Linked DNA regions of Homo sapiens: regions 1 and 3 are each linked to region 2. The links are contacts of gene promoters, found by promoter capture Hi-C in blood cells and fetal thymus (Javierre and others, 2016). All regions are on one chromosome and are shown on one strand. Each heading gives the region's core, a stretch centred on a gene start or on the middle of the fragment in contact. The rest is flanking DNA. Distances are from core to core; before and after follow the strand shown. Region 1 has its middle 11 kb from the start of RARS1. Region 2 holds the start of NUDCD2 (NudC domain containing 2). Region 3 overlaps RARS1 (arginyl-tRNA synthetase 1).

Region 1 (2,700 bases), core at 35-2,534, 5.0 Mb after region 2:
AGTAGCTGATAAATATACATGAAGCTAATTAGAGTAACAAAAGAACACAAGCTTGCCATTGCAGTACTTTTTACCATTTGCATTTATGTATTTGATTCTTTAGTTTTATCTGTCTGTTTATTAGGATGTTGGAGACACAGGGCAGGCACCATGCATATCTTGTTCACTATTTTAGCCCTGGGGCCATGACAGTCCCTGACAGATGGCAGACCCTCCAACACTTGTTCAGTGAGTGAATTAAGCTAAGACCAAAGTTCTAATTCCAATCCTGCCAAGTACCAACACGAATGTGGGCACACACTTCCAAATGGTTTTCAACCCTCTCTGCAGGCTGCTATGACAACAAGTGACTGGATGCACTGTTTCCCCAGAGGGAGGCATAAGTGTATGATTGGTGACAGGAGATAATGTTAGGTGGTACATGGGTGAATTTTTATATTTATAGTCATATTTGTTTTAATATACATAATATATAACTTGTCCATCAAACCCATGCTTTCACAGATATTACTGTTTAAGATGAGGATAAGTAAATATTTAAGTTAATAAAGTGAATCAATTTAAAGAAAAATATGTACTTAGGTGAAACAAAGAAATGGCAAAAATAGTGATGATGAAAACATCTGGGGCCGGGCGCAGTGGCTCACGCACCCTGGGTGGGCCTTCCCACCACCCTTGTGATAGGAGGGAGAGGGAAAAAGAGAGGTTTTCAAGGATCAGGGGACCTGCCTCCTCCTAGGTCAGGGCTTTGTCTCAGCCCCACCCCTCCCTAGGAGAGTCACCGTGTGCTTGGGGGCATTCTCACTGTGCATAGGAGAGTGCACAGCTGAGGCAGGAGAATTGCTTGAACCTGGGAGGCGGAGGTTGCAGTGAACCGAGATCGTGCCACGGCACTCCAGCCTGGGCAATGGAGTGAGACTCTGTCTCAAAGAGCGTGCCCTCTCCCAGAGCCTCAGGATGGGAGCCTAGTGTCTTTTTTGAAAAAAATTAGACTTAGTTTTCAATTATTATGTAAGTAATTGATACACATCATTAAGTAAAAATGATAGGAGGCCATGGTTTTGGACTAAGCTCCTGCACCAGGCCCCAACAGACCAGACTAAAAATCAGAATGGAGTCACCCATGCTCAAGTTTCATGTCACCAAACCTAAACTAAGTTACCTGACCTTCAGGGAAATCGGGAGAGAGAGAACACCCAATTTCCCAGACAGGTCCTTTGAAGCCTTCAGTCCTTCAGTCATGAAGAAGTTCCCTCTGCCTTAATCCTTACAGGCAAAAAGGTAGCCTGAAGGAAACTGTCGTTAACTACGCAGTTATTTTTCTATTATTCTATTATGTCCCTATCTTATGAGAAAAGTAACTTTGAAAGGACTAATACATCCTGTTCTTAGCTTCTGCTTCCTTCAGGCCTTCTCTATGAAGCCAGCCTATTCTGCTCAGCGCTTTGGAACACTGATTCTATTTCATGGACCGAAGCATTGCCCAATTGTAGAATTGCAATAAAGCCAACTGAGATCTTTAAATTGGCTATAATTCATCCTTTGGCAATACAGTAAAAAAAAAAAATTCTCACAATTCTGTAGAAGGGTATGAGATATACAATAAAAGACACCCCCACCCTCTGCAATCTACCACTCACAGTAGTTTATCTGGTGGTTTCCACTTTTTAACAATGGTCTGGGCCAGGTGCAGTGACTCACTCCCGTAATCCTAGCACTTTGGAAGGTCGAGGCGGGCAGGTTGCCTGAGCTCAGGAGTTCAAGACCAACCTGGGCAACACAGTGAAACCCCTGTCTCTACTAAAATACAGAAGAAATTAGCCGGGTGTGGCGGCATGCGCCTGTAGTCCCAGCTACTCGTTTGGCTGAGGCAGGAGAATTGCTTGAACCCATGAGGCAGAGGTTGCAGTGAGCCGAGATCATGCCGCTGCACTCCAGCCTGGGTGACAGAGCGAGACTCTGTCTCTAAAAAAATAAATAAATAAAATTTAAAAATAAAATAATGCTCAGTAGGCCAGGCACGGTGGCTCATGCCTGTGATCCTAGCACTTTGGGAGGCCAAGGCAGGTGGATCACCTGAGGTCAGGAGTTTGAGACCAGCCTGGCCAATATGGTGAAACCCCTTCTCTACTAAAAATACAAAAATTAGCCAGGCGGGGTGGTGTGGGCCTGTGGTTCCAGCTACTTGGGAAGCTGAGGCAGGAGAATTGCTTGAACCTGGGAGGCGGAGGTTGCAGTGAACCAAGATTGTGCCACTGCACTCCACCTCTGGGCGATAGAGTGAGACTCTGTCTCAAAAATAAATAAAATAAAATAAAAATGGCCTGTATTATTTTTATTCATCATCTTCAGTAAGACCTCTCCACTCATCACCATAAAGATGAGGACATTATGGCACATACTTACCCTTTCTCCTTCCCAGCCACAACTTCTAATTTTTCTTAGTTACATTATTATTTTTATATAGTTTAAAAAAGGGTATCACATTTACGCACTGCTCTGTAATCATGTAATCCTAAAGCTTCCTCTGCTGTGAGTTGATTTAGAAAGTTAAAAACTAGTAAACAGCATTTACAGATTGATGGGGAAATCAACATTATTCCCTATGGAAACAAGTAGTGTGTGATCAGAGCTGGGTCATTAAAACTTTACCACTAGAAGGAAAATTTAAGGTTCCAGTCATTCTTTCCCTCCCCATAG
Region 2 (2,700 bases), core at 49-2,548:
ATTTACTAATTTATAATCGTAATCTAAAACCATTGTTGAGGAAACTATGAATTGTACAATTCAGAAAAGTAACTGAGATCCAAGCTGACATAATGTCTTTCACACGAATCTTGAGGCACTCAAAGCACCTCCATATACTGTAATATATATAATAGCTAATAGCTAACATATAGTATGAACTTATTACATACCAGTGAATACTCCAAGCTCTTCATACACGTGAATACCATGTTAAGCTCAAAACAATCCCATGAGAAGGGTACTATAACTACCTTATCTTGTGGATAAGGAAGATATAGAGACACTGAACAATCTCTCGCCCAAGTTTACAAAACTAGGAAACAAGTAGTCTCCCTTCACCATATTACACTGCCATCAAACATCTTGGGCATCTAACCTGAGAACTAAATCTAATTTCAACCTGTTAGTTTAATTATACACTTAACAAAGAAAAAGCGGGTCCAGATCCAAAGAGCATTGGTGAAAAGAAATAAAAGGAGTACTACTTATTTTATGCACACACCTCTTCACCACCTGCTTGACCACTCCACAAACATGCAGGATTTTCAAGCTTTTAGATGAGAAAACTAATCACCTGACATCATCTCTAAATTCTCTGCCCGTTATTCTATCCCTATTTTCTTTGTTGTCCTTTCCTATATTTATCTATTTATGAATTACGCTTCCGTACAGGAGCTTAACCTCTCCACTGCAGGTACGTTATCTGTTGTCTTCCTGCCTGTCTTCAGTGCACGGAAGAAATATTTGTTCCTTTAGCAACCTAGTTAATCTGTTCCCAGCTGAAGCCCGTCAGAGAAGCAGAAGCAGCAGTCTTAGTTTGAAAACTAAACACGAAAATAGGCTCCTCAAATTTCCACAACTCAGCACCTGCCCTGAAGAGGCGGGGGCTCTGACCAGACCCAAACCTGGTCAGTGTTATCCTCTTTCTCTTTCTGCCAGCCACAGGAGCCGTCGGGACACCCAACAGTCGTTCAGGGAAACGGGGCTGGGGGCGTCTGGGAAGAGGAAACTGAACACAAGCCCCGAGCTGCCGCTACCTTGAGGATCTCGCGGCCGCCCACCGACAGCGCCACATGCCGGCTCTGGAGGCCGCACTGGATATCCTGGGCGCGCGTGCCTGGCGGCACCTGAACTTCAATGAACACCTCCTCCAAGGTCTGGTACCACTGGCCCCACGGGGTCCCGCACGGTACCACCCCACTCCGCTCCTCAAACGGGGCCGACATAATCCAGTCCCTCCCGGCCGCGGCCGCACCAGGCGGAGCCGAGCGCACGCGCGGAATCCCACGCTTAGGCTACGCCTCGGCCTCTCCGCTCGGGTCACTGCGCATGCGCAGGAACGCAAGCTAGCGCTTTGGTGTGCGTGTTCGTTTTTCCCTTTGAATGGCCGTTTACGGCACCGGCAGGCCCCGGATGAAAGAACTGAAATCCAGAAAAGTTCACATGCAACGAACAATGGGACAGAATTGGAACCAGTGAAGCCGGAACTCACTACACCGTCCCCTAAGTGACGCCAAAATGCACTTTCTAACGTCTCCGGAGGGAAGTGCGCTTGCGCAAATGCTAGGTTACACTTGAGTAACTCCGGGAATGACTGGGTGGGTGGGGCGGGGAACAGTAACGGTCTCCTATTGGATGGCAGCCTAAACTCGCAGGCCAGCTAATTGGACGCAATCAGAACCCAGCATTCTTTCTTCGTGTTCCTGTGCGGGATTGGTGTGCCCAGGGGTTTGGCTTTCCAATTGGCTAACGCCGGGGTGGGTGGGGAATGTGGGGAGATTTGAATTTGAAACCGGTAGGGAGTGATAATCCGCATTCAGTTGTCGAGGAGTGCCAGTCACCTTCAGTTTCTGGAGCTGGCCGTCAACATGTCCTTTCCTAAGGCGCCCTTGAAACGATTCAATGACCCTTCTGGTGCGTAAGGGGGAAAGAGCTGGGGGACGGGAGACGCCCTAACGCCCTTTGCCTCTTTCAGCTCCCTTCTTGGGAGGCAAGCAGGAGGCGATTTTAGGGTCGGGCTGGGGCTCATTCAGTTGATTGATTTTTCTCAAATATGCTCTAAGCATCTGTTACATGCCAAGCACTAATCAGGATGCTAAGGATACCGCAGTGAAACAGTCTCCGCCCCGTGGGGCTTACATTCAGGCGGGGAATACTGTCAATAAACAGCGGTAATGGAGAAACTACAGCAGGGCGAAGGGAATGGACCCGAGACGTTGGTAGCTACTTGATTTTCAAGTCCGAGAGGGCCTCACTGATAAGAACACTGGAGTATTACTTGTAGTCTGAACTTGTGCATTTCTTTTGTGTATTCCATTTGGGCATAAAAGAAGGAAGATTAGTAAAGGCAGTTTATGGGTGTAAAATTAGAGCAGCAGCACTTATTGAAAACATAAACAATGAAGTTATGGCTGATATTGACCACTTATACCTCAAGCACCGTACTAAGGCTTTACATCGATTATTAGTTATGTTAATTTCCCACCAACTCTAAGGGGTAATCCTATTATTATTTTATTGATAAAAAGACTGAGACTTAAATTTGCTCAGTGCTACATTACCAAAGTGACCGGACTGGAATATGAACCCAGCCCCCATCGTGTGCTCTTAACACCGCAATGCACAGCACAGTAACCAGGAAGCCTTAGCTGTGTTTGGTAGGCACTCATCATTTAAGAT
Region 3 (2,782 bases), core at 207-2,706, 5.0 Mb after region 2:
CTCCAGCCTGGGCAACAGAGCAAGACCCGGTCCCAAAAAAATAAATACATAAAAATAAACAAAAAATTGACATTTATTATAGCAGGTTTTGGGTATAAGATCATAATCTAGGCCAAGTGTGGTGGCTCATGCCTGTAATCTCAATGCTTTGGGAGGCCAAGGCAGGAGGATGTCTTGAACCCAGGAGTTCAAGGTTACAGTGAGCTGTCATGCCACTGCACTTTAGCCTCAGCAGAGTGCACAGTGAGATCTTGTCTGTTACCCCCAACAAAGAAGAGAAAAGGATCATATCCAAGTAAATTTGGCATTTGCTGTTGGAAATCTTTAGATTGGGAAAAATGTATCTTCCTTGTTTTAAGTATGTTACCACAGAGAGGAGTCAATTATTGATTAGCTACAAACTTGAAATCAGGTTTTTTAGTGAATTTAAGAATATAATTTCTTCATATGATAGAGAGGGCTGATGAGGGGAGCATAAAACTTGGACTGTCCATTCCAATAGACCTGAGTTTGAATCTGGCCTTTTCCACTTATTCTGTCTTGTCTTTGACAAGTGACTTATCTGTAGCCCACATAGAAATAGTGATAATAGTAACAAGCTCGATTTTATTATGTAGATGGAATAAGATAATGCATATAAATAAAGCATTTGGTTCAAATCTTTGCATACTCAAGTATTAACTTTTGTTATTGTCATTATTTTATACTGTTGACATTTTGATGAATATAAATTTGTGATGAACATAAAATTGTGATGAACATGTTGATGAACATAAAATTGACAAACATAAAGGTGTATAGGCAGCATGTTTATCTTCTATTAAAAGCATATGTGTCATTCACCTTTTTTTTTTTTTTTTTTTTTTTGCTAAACTGCTGTATGGCAAGTACAGTGCTAGATGCCAGGGACAGGGAAGAGAGCCATGAATTAAGCACTTTGTGTGCATCCAGCAGTCTAGTGGTAGAGACAGATAGTTTTGTGAGGGTATGATAAGTGCAGTAATAGAGATAATTATATGCCATCTTAAATGACTATATTCCATGGGAAAACAGGAGGTAGTAGGTCTCATAACAGTAAAACAAAACTACTGGCTTTTCTGGTATATTAATATTACCTGCTTTGCTCCCTTTTATTTCATGCCTTGAAGAGGTCAACATTTTGATGGACATCATGTATTTTTTTGTTTGTTTTTTGTCCATTGAGTTTTCACTTCCAATATTTGATGTGAAATAAATTATTTTCTCAGAGATTTGGAGAAGCTGAGAAAAGGATTCCATCAGCTCTTTTAACTCCCTCCTCCCAGTTTCTGTTCTGCTAAAACAAATGCAAAAAGTAAGACCTCAGGGCATTTCCCATGGATGTCTTAGATGCCGTGGGATGGACTTGTCCTGCTGCATGTCTTAGCAAATCCCAGATTGAGGGCATCACACCATAAGTACGTTTTCCCTTTTGGTTCTTAAGATATTTGGAGGTTTATACTCAAAATATTTGGAGACATCTTGTATGATGATGGTTTTACGTACATTATTGACATGTTTCCATTCTTTTCCTACAGAGTCTTCAGGCAGAAAGGAACAAACCAACTAAAAATATGATTAACATTATTAGCCGCCTACAAGAGGTCTTTGGTCATGCAATTAAGGCTGCATATCCAGATTTGGAAAATCCTCCTCTGCTAGTGACACCAAGTCAGCAGGCCAAGTTTGGGGACTATCAGTGTAATAGTGCTATGGGTATTTCTCAGGTGATGTATTGTCATGACTCTTGGCTGTTTGATTTTTTTAAGTATTATTATCATCATTGCCATTTACAGAAATAATACTATTACAAGTTGTATCCTTAGTGAAAAGGACATTTGCCACAGTTTGAAAAACTTGAGAAAGGAGTTGGGGGGGTATATGTTTTAACTTTTTTAGGCACAATTTTTAAGGTTTGGTTAAATTTTATATGTATTCTCAATATTTAAGGGCAATCATTGGTACTCTTTTGTTTAGGTATTTCCCTCCTGCTGTGTCCAGGATTGCTGTGTGGTGGTGATGAGTGCTGGGAGGTGAAAAATTAAAATAAGCCATTTACCAGTCAGCATCCCAATTAAATATTTGATGTAACTGTGATCTTTGAGCCAGGCTTATATATTCATTTTCAAGCAGAGGAGTTCCCCATTTTAAATAGAGGCATTGTCTGATGTGTTTATGGTTAACTGCATCTGGCTTGGGTCTTTCTGTTTTCCTTTCTTTGCTGAATTGGAAGGGGTTACTCTGAAGAGTCCAGGTCTTACAGTGTGGTTTATTTCTCAAGTGTGAATATTGCACACCTTCATGGCTTGAAAATTAGAAATGTAAATATGCTGGAACCAGACTTCATAACTGTAGACTTTGTTATGTCATCATTAAAAAGTTCGAGGTGTTGTAATCCCAGCTACTAGGGAGGCTGAGGCAGGAGAATTGCTTGAACCCAGGGGCGGAGGTTACAGTGAGCCGAGATCACACCACTGCACTCCAGCCTGGGCAACAGAGCGAGACTCCATCTCAAAAAAAAAAAAAAAAAAAAATAGTTCCAGGTATTTGTGTGTAACGTATTTGGAAATAGAGATCATGTAGTGTGGGCACTTTCTATGCCTCTTGGCACTATTGATACTTTAATCTGTCATTCATAATGTGATTGGACTTCTCTGCTTCTGCCTTTTGATGGTTCTTAACGTAAAATGCATCTCGTGCCTTGTCAGGTGTGCATTTGCGAGTAACTTGCTGAAATCTGTTGTGTAATGAATCATTTTATATT

The links. The method cuts DNA at HindIII sites, captures the fragments that hold promoters and counts their contacts. A CHiCAGO score of 5 or more calls a contact.
Region 1: a contact is called between a fragment that was not itself captured here and the fragment with the promoter of NUDCD2 in region 2, in 1 of 17 cell types (naive CD8 T cells). The highest score is 10.1, in naive CD8 T cells.
Region 3: a contact is called between a fragment that was not itself captured here and the fragment with the promoter of NUDCD2 in region 2, in 2 of 17 cell types (non-activated CD4 T cells and total B cells). The highest score is 7.3, in non-activated CD4 T cells.

Annotation. Positions count from the first base shown.
Region 1 is chr5:168,474,324-168,477,023 of GRCh38, forward strand. No RefSeq gene overlaps it. Among named protein-coding and RNA genes, the nearest start is that of RARS1, 11 kb to the right of the region's middle. The HindIII fragment of the contact is 2,470 bases long and covers 50-2,519 here.
Region 2 is chr5:163,458,804-163,461,503 of GRCh38, forward strand. NUDCD2 (NudC domain containing 2) reads right to left here and starts at 1,299. Exons shown (of 4, transcript NM_145266.6): 1 at 1,059-1,299. The coding sequence starts at 1,247. HMMR (hyaluronan mediated motility receptor) reads left to right here and starts at 1,829. Exons shown (of 18, transcript NM_001142556.2): 1 at 1,829-1,935. The coding sequence starts at 1,890. RefSeq lists enhancers at 1,016-1,265, 2,016-2,075 and a silencer at 1,596-1,685. The HindIII fragment of the contact is 3,644 bases long and covers 570-2,700 here.
Region 3 is chr5:168,491,103-168,493,884 of GRCh38, forward strand. RARS1 (arginyl-tRNA synthetase 1) reads left to right here. Exons shown (of 15, transcript NM_002887.4): 3 at 1,557-1,745. Among named protein-coding and RNA genes, the nearest start is that of RARS1, 6.0 kb to the left of the region's middle. RefSeq lists an enhancer at 1-67. The HindIII fragment of the contact is 6,048 bases long and covers 1-2,782 here.